2 separate regions of the Homo sapiens genome follow, and region 1 is linked to region 2. Evidence: promoter capture Hi-C in human tissues and cell types (Jung and others, 2019). All regions are on one chromosome and are shown on one strand. Each heading gives the region's core, a stretch centred on a gene start or on the middle of the fragment in contact. The rest is flanking DNA. Distances are from core to core; before and after follow the strand shown.

Region 1 (4,250 bases), core at 1,589-4,088, 46 kb before region 2:
TGCAGCTCTCGGAAAATCTCAGCCAGGTTGTCACAAACCTTGGCTCTAGTTGGAGATGGCGTAGAGATGTCTTCTGGTGCAAAGTTTGCCTCTTAGAGGAGAATTCTGCCTTTAGGAGAAATGGCTTGGCTCTTATTCTCTAGCCATACTCAATTGTTACAGATGTACTTCATTATTACATATCCAATGCCAATCACTACAACAAGGATTTATACTGTCTGGGGCACACCTGGGGAAACTGTGGTCATGGTAAATTTTGGGATAGATCTAATGGTAGGGCAGCTGTCAGCCAACTTCTTACCTCACAGCAAATTCCCTTGAAAGCAAGTCTGAGCAACCATGACTCCCACACTAGCCACAAGTCACAAACCGAAGAGTATCAGAGTTACAATTTCATTTATTTCCCAAACCTGTGATATTACAACTCTCTACTATAGTTTGTACACTTTACGTAATTGACATCATACTACTTTTTGTACTTCAAATAGACTGTGCATAATTTTCATGTCATTATTGTTGCAACAAAATTGAATTATTAAATAAAATGTGACTTTTATTTTTGGCAATATGGGAGGCTAGTACCTTGATTGACAGTTCACCAAAACAGTTAAAATTCTGGATAAACTGCTACTTATATTAGTGATATTTATTTGTGTATTTTTATTATTTTATTTTATTTATTTATTTTTTGAGACGGAGTCTTGCTCTGTCTCCCAGGCTAGAGTGCAGTGGCATGATCTCAGCTCACTTCAACCTCCGCCTCCTGGATTCTCATGCCTTAGCCTCCCCAGTAGCTGAGATTACAGGTGTGCATTATGCCTGGCTAATTTTTGTATTTTTAGTAGACACAAGGTTTCAGCATGTTGGCTAGGCTTGTCTTGAACTCCTGACCTCAGGTGATCCACCTGCCTTGGCCTCCCAAATTGCTGGGATTACAGGTGTGAGCAACTGCGCACAGCCCCCTTATTTGTAATTTTTAAATGCATTGTTGAGCTTAGACCAAAAAGAAGCCAAGATGGAAACTCAGAAATAGGACTGCTGAGAAAAATTTATTGTAACAAAACTTGGCTCTAGGTTGAGTGGGCGGGGCTATCACCTCAGAAAACTGATAGCCATCATGTGGTCCCAAGATGGATTTGTAGCCCAAATATTCATTACCTGTGGTGCCTTTGACTGTTTGGCAGAAAATAAAAATAAAAAATAAATATAATAAACTGTTGGAGCAAGTGATAATCAACATAAACCTCAAAACAAACTCCACAATAAAGTATCAAGGAAAAACAGTAACATATATGATGGTAACATTTTTCATATATAGAAAAATATCACAAAATATACAAAATAAATATGGAAAATATTTATTGGGGGAGATTCTTCAGAAGGACAAAGAGGAGAAGGAGAAGGACAAGGGAAAGTAATAAAAACTAAAATAGATCTATATTAATTGTCATATACTTAAGGGAAGATACACTTAAAAGATGGTACAAAATATGTTCTGAATTTGGTACAAATGTTGACCACATAAGTGTTTGTGAAATTGCTAATATAAATGCTTGTTACATTGATTGATGTTGGATATATAATAATGAAGTAATATGTAACAATTTAAAATATGTTTTGCAATTTTTTGAGAGATAAGAATGATCATACACAGTAAGTATAAATTGATTTCTAGAAGACAATTTGGCTATATGTATGAAGGCCTATATGAATGTATGAAAATGCATACATTTTGACACAGCAATCTAATTTACATGATTTATTACAAGAAATAATAAGAAACATACATAAAGCTTTATTTACAACAACCATCATAAGATCACTTTGCACAATAGTAGAAAATCAGGAACTAAATATCTTAAATTAGGATATCTATTAAATAAATTATGGCATAGTCATATGATGACATGATGACATGCTGTATTATATCTGCTGGTTTTTAAGACTTTGTGTTTGGTGTTCTGAAATTTTACTAAGCTATCTCTCTCCCTCCCTCCCTCTCCCTCTTGTTCTCTGGATGTTTTATATTAAAGAAAGAGTTACCTAAATTTTTGTGGAGTGAATATCCCATACCCAAAAATTGAATGGAGTGAATACCCCATACCCAAAAATTCAGAAAGCATATTTTTCATCTTAACTATGCTACATTAGTTAAGACGAAAAATATGCTTTCTAAATATATATAAAGACAGTTGAAAAATAATTTGGTTTTAGTGTAACTCAGATAAGTCAAAGAGCACAGGTTCATACCTAGACAAGATGGGAAAAATATCTTGCCTATGATATGTTCTGGAAAAATTTTGGGTGCCAGAATCAACTTTAGAAGTGTATTTACTCAGCAGCTGGGGAGGGGAGGGGAATGGATACTTGACTTGACTTTTCTTCCTGGCCTCTTCATTCCCATGCCAGGGGAGACTAGCAGCAGTTCACAGCTGACAGTGTTTTAGGTCATACCTAACAGATTTTTCACTCACCACTTGGTTCTTGGCTTTCCCTACTCTAACATTTCCAGGGCAGCAGAAATTCTCTAAAGTAAATGTGGTCATTAGTGCTAAAAAAAAAAAAAAAAGTTTGTCGTGTAGGAGTTATAACCATACTATGGGCAAGCAGTTTCATATAACTTTATTTTTTTAAAAGGATTAATTAGCATTTAATATTAAATGCTAACAATCAGCTTTTTGAGTGTGGCTTAAAAAACAATTTTAGAAAACACTACTTAAAATATACATCCAAACCAGAAAATAGTTTTTAAAATTATACCATGTGTCCTGATTTTTGTCCTGTTTTGGAAAATCTTCACCATATTCTCTTAAGCTGGAGAAGAAGTTAACAGAAGTTAAATTTTTACCTTTAAAAATTATCCTAAAATAACATAAACGAAGATGAAAGTTACATTTTATTTTCTACTTGTTTGCACTGTTTGAAGAAACGTATATGTTATATACATGATATGTATGTTATACATGTTATATATATGTTATATATATGTTTTACATATATATATGGGATGCTTATATTACTGTCTGATGTTCACCAATTGCAGCAATTTCCAATAAACATTTAGATATTATTGTTAGTTCCTAAATTTCTAATTTGACTACTATGAACTCATTGAGCAATAATGTTACTGAATACCTATGATAGGTAAAATGCTTGCTAGGTTTTGTAAGAGTCCAAATATATGTAGGTGATGTCACTGCCTTCAAGTTAAACCAAAATTAGAATAAACTGTTTGTGTTATAAAACTCAAGAATCAATATAAATACTCTGTTATCTTAATGTAGAAATTGACTCTAAATTATTCTGATTTAGTACATTGGAACTTTCCAAAACCTTTGATTTTAGCCTCAAAACATAGTAAGAAGTATAGAAGTAAAACATCCTTCCCTACATGTCTTTTGGACATCAGTGATTCTTCACGTTTTGCTGGACTAAAGATGAGTTAAAAGACTTTCTCTAAGTACTTTGATTTGGAGTAACCTCATTGATTGTTTCCTTCCTGACATTACTTTGTGAAATTAGATTGGGACACACTTTTCCCTGAAGAGCTCTACATCCACAAATGTTTCCGATTACATGAAAGCCTTCAGCGTGTGAAGGGTCATCATGCAGAGAAGAGTGTCTGACTTTTCCCTATTGCCATGAATGACAGAATAAGATAATATGAGTTTAAATTGAAAGAGAAGAAGGGATTTGGCTTACCTATGGGGAAGGTTTTATTATTTAAACCCTTCTATCTTAGAGTAGCATGAACCTCCTGTAGTTAATAAGAGCTAAGAGCTACTTGGAACTTACTATGTTTCAGGGATTGCCTTAAGCCTCTTACCTATGTTTACTCATTGACTCTTTGCAGTCATCCTGTAAAACAGATACCGTAGTGCCCCTTTATCCATGGGGGATGTGTTCCAAGCCTACCAGTGAATGCCTGAGACTGCAGATAGTACTGGACTCTATATACACTATATTTTTTTCTATACATACATACCTGTGATAATGTTTAATTTATAAAGTAGGCATAAAGAGACAATAACAATGGTAATTAATAAACAAATATAACAATATACTATAATAAAAGTTATGTAAATGTGATCTTTTTCACTCTCTGTCAAAATATCTGGTTGTACTATACGCACTCTTCTTCTTCCTGTGATCTGTTGATCTGATAACCCAGGTAGCTACTGAGTGAGTAATGGGCAGGTAATAGTGTGCAGTGTGGCTAGGCTGCCACTGCACAAATGGATGATTCATGT
Region 2 (4,115 bases), core at 1,002-3,501:
GGGTAGAAAACATCACATTATTTACGCTTGGTACCAGAATGGTGTAAGAGATGCAACTGGCTTTAAGAAGAATACCTTAATAAGTATCTGGGGTGGACAGAGGCTGAGACCCAAAGGCATAGTGGTTGGACATTACCAAGACACATAGCTGCTGGTAGTTGAGGGTGAAGAGGAGATAAATGAGGAGTGAGATGCCTTGGAGATAAGGGCATGGGGTCCTGCAAGGGAAGAAGGTATGAGAGAAACGTGTCAGACAGGGAGGCAGAAAGAACGTCTAAAGAATGAGTATGTTTTATACGTGATTTTTCACTGATTACTGTGTGATTTCTATATTCTTATTCATTTTGGGAGGGCTTTGGACAGAATAAAAAAGTGTAGAAAGTGTAAGCCAACGCCACTCAAATGTTATGAGCTAAGAGTGGTTCTTAACTGATATCTGGGTTGTATATGGGAAATAAAACAACTATGTCTCAACATGGAGATGTTCCATCAAGTTAATAATACAATACAAGTTATAATACAATAGAGAGGCAAGAATTGAGCCAATGGAAACCATTTATAGTTGTATAGTTGACACAATTAAATTGTCAATATTTGGGGAATTATTAAGGATGAATCTGGATTGGGTAAAGTGTCTGCTATTCTGGGGAAGAGTATAATGTTTTGGCTAATGGAAATGAAGAAAGAGTTAAATTTTGACTTGAGTTTTAAAGAGATAAAGACATGGCATTTGGAAGAGAAGCAAATAAGAACATTTGTGTCATCAGATAAAAGTCCAGAAACAGCCAGGGGATAGAGAAAGAGAGAGAGATGGAGAGGGGGAGAGAGAGAGTGAGGGAGAGAGAGAGAGAGAGAGACTCCTTGACTAAAAAAGTGAATTGAAGGCTTAGTATGGGAATCATTCAGGGTACAAGCAATATGTTTCTGTGGGATGGTATTCATATTCATGTGTGAAGTAACTGGCAGTCATGGGAAGGTTAAAGTAATGTGTGGACACCATGATTTTGACTGTCTTGTGTAGAATATACCAGGTGTACAATTCCAGAGTTGGCAAGGACTAAGGAGAGATGGGGCAGTCTTGAGCAAGTTGGAACCAACCTGAGGATTGTGAAAGGGAAAGGAAACCAGTGGAAAAGGATAGAGAAAGGGTTGATTATTTACAAATACATGGCTGCGAAGATGGAAGGGAATGAGGGTTGCATTATGGTGATTCACAATGAATTGATTGATAAGAGCAATACTCTCTTCTGGTATTAATTATATCAATTGCTCGGGAGTCTTTTATCCTGTGCCTCAGGCAACCTCTAGGCCTAGCACTTTCCCTTTAGAATCCTTTTCAACGTAGGGCTGCTCAGCATCAGTGAAGTGGAATGCATTAAGATGAAAGCATAGACAAAAGCTTCCCAGACCCATAACCAACATCTCTTATCAAATAGAGTACCTATAATGGTGATGAGTATGGTTAGAAAGTAAGAGGTAAACACAATAAATAAGACGGCAAGGGACCTCAGGGCAGTGAAGCGCGCTTTCATGCTTGGATTGCAGTGACCAGTGCTATGATGTTGTATCTGCTTGGTCAGTGATGCCATGAGAAAGATGGTGGAGGCCAGGAACAGGATGAAAGGAATAACCAATGCAACTGTATGAGCCTGGAACTGATACTGATGAAAATTTTCAAGTTTGTCAGTTACAGTGCTGTTTCTTGGTAGATGCTCCATGGTGAGTAACTGAATTTGAATGTAATTCCCAATAGCTGAAGGGATGATTGTTACACAAGTAATCATCAGAGAACCCAGTAATATCCAGGGAAACAACCTCAAAATTCTCCACCTCAGCCAGAGAAAGATGTGATGGGTGAAAGAAGAGACCTTGATGCAGTAGAACACGGTAAGCAAGCTGTTTAACCAGAATGTAAGGATATTAAAAAATTCCCAGGTGATTGTTAAGTTGCAAAGTACATAATTCAAATTAAAATAGGAGCAAAAATTGTTCAGCATTGATGCCCACTGTAGACAGAAGCGAGAGATGCCCAGGCTGATGAGAATCATGTCCACAGGCATCAGCCTTCTGACTTGCAGCCATTCTCTGCCCAGCACTGCAACAATTAGGCTGCTCTGCACAATAATTGTCAAGGACTCAAGCACATAGATGATCATGAAGAAGACAGTGAGTTGGATGGGTATCATTCTTCTACTCCAAAGTGTCTTCCTGGACAAAGACTCTGAATCTCTGTACCAATTTCCAGGTAGAGAATGGGTTCCTGATTCCACCACTGTCTGGTACAAGAAAACCCCTCTCTCTGGAAGCAAATTTTCCCAAGCTCATTTTTGATTTTGTCATTTTCCTATCTATAGAATTTGTTTATGCTTTGCTTGCTGGTTTGCTATCACATCTGAATGTAGGGAAATGTTTAAATGTGGATTCCTGCTCCTGAGGTGATTTGATTATTCCAAAAAGGCATATGTATTTCATAACCATGTTGTTTATTTCCTCTTTTTCTGAGGTGCACTTAGCTTATTTCCTTATCTTCTTTAAATGACATCTTCACTCTTTTAACCTAAAATTTGAGCAACAAGAAAGATGAATCCTTCCCTGTTCATTCACGTCCTGCATGATGTTTCTGCTCTGTTGAGTGCAGTACCAAAGCGAACCTCAGAAGCCCTATCTTCCCAGTTCTCATGGCAGCTAGTGGTGGATGCTACAACCAAAGTGTGAGGGTAAATAAAAATGATAATGAAAAGTCTTTCCTCCGAAATTCCACAAAATTGCTGAACCCCAGACCTTCAAGTATTTCCATCCAATGCAGGCCACTCTCATAACTGCCCATTGAATTCCCCCACTTAGAGAAATCAAACTGCAGAGAAAACACTGCACACAGCCTCTCTTAGCTATTGTTCTTCTGCCAATTCCGATGCTTTGAGCATATGCCTTATATATTTTCAGGAATTGTTCTTGTCCCATTAACATCACTGTGTGTTTTTTTTTTTCTCTTACATGGCTAGGTTCTTTTTGTCACTGCTCCCATTGCTCAGGAAGAATTGAAAGAGGACCCTCTTACCACTAGTAAAGCGTATTACTTCTAAATGTGCAGGCATCATTTCATAGCTATACAAGCAGGCTATAAAAGGAATACGTTTTCCTTCAGTTCAGGACAACTCTTCCAAATAGACACCAAATATGTAATAAGTGGCTTCAGAAATGAGAGGTTATTCTAATTGCTAGTTGGTGACAGAGACAAAGTGAAAGTCATTGACCTTATGTATGATAAACTCGGAGTCTGTATGGACTTTTTAGTCATTCAAGGAAGACAACACAGAAGCAAGCAAACATGAATCTTAGAATTCTTGAACACAAAACAAGAAACTACTGAACTCATGAAGCAAAGGTAAGCAATAGCTTGAAAAATTACACCAGAAAACAGAATTAAGTGTAAGAAAGCATCTGCTTTGCATTCTCAATAAAATGCAAGAAACAGGAAATAAAAAACTGAGATGACAAAACAATATATATTATTAAAAGGTGAATTGGTTGAGATGTATCCAGACATAAGAAGGGAGAAAGATGAGATATGAAATGTTGGTATGTGAAACATGCAATAATAGCATTAACCTCTAATTTATGTCCTGAATACACTAAGCATGTTGCCAGCTATATACACTGCCCCATTCTGAGTAAACTTGGAAGGACTGTGATGCTCTCAATCTCTGTCTGAGGGGTTGTGAAAGTGTGGCCACCATACTACACCCCTCATGACTGGATTCCAGCCACAATAGTATGACCAGGAATGAGTTTCTGTCCAAAGCAGCCCCTCATAGACTGGCCTGCTGCATGAGAGATGGCCTGGCACTACTCTACTCCACTGGAGTGTTTTCTATGTGATAGTGGCTGATTAAATAACCCAGATACTCTTTTTGGGAAAGTTTGAAGGTGAGACATACAGAGTGTCCATAGACTGGTGATTGATGTTCCCTGGGGTTAGGAGTTGAGAGTCTGGCTCTTTCATCATGTGTGCATGTGAACCTTCAGGGCCACCTCTGGGGTCTCCTCATTGCAGTGATCCCAATTCTGGTTTGCCTTCTTCCACTCTCCTTTAGCTCACACCCTTTCCCTTATCA

Evidence for each region. The method cuts DNA at HindIII sites, captures the fragments that hold promoters and counts their contacts. A contact is called where the count stands out against the background at its distance.
Region 1: a contact is called between a fragment that was not itself captured here and the fragment with the promoter of TAS2R16 in region 2, in 3 of the 25 tissues and cell types used here (aorta, small bowel and stomach).

Annotation. Positions count from the first base shown.
Region 1 is chr7:122,946,971-122,951,220 of GRCh38, forward strand. All of the region lies in intron 2 of LOC105375482 (a long non-coding RNA gene), which reads left to right. Among named protein-coding and RNA genes, the nearest start is that of TAS2R16, 47 kb to the right of the region's middle. The HindIII fragment of the contact is 4,621 bases long and covers 529-4,250 here.
Region 2 is chr7:122,993,449-122,997,563 of GRCh38, forward strand. TAS2R16 (taste 2 receptor member 16) reads right to left here and starts at 2,252. Exons shown (of 1, transcript NM_016945.3): 1 at 1,256-2,252. The coding sequence starts at 2,186. The coding sequence ends at 1,311. The HindIII fragment of the contact is 11,039 bases long and covers 643-4,115 here.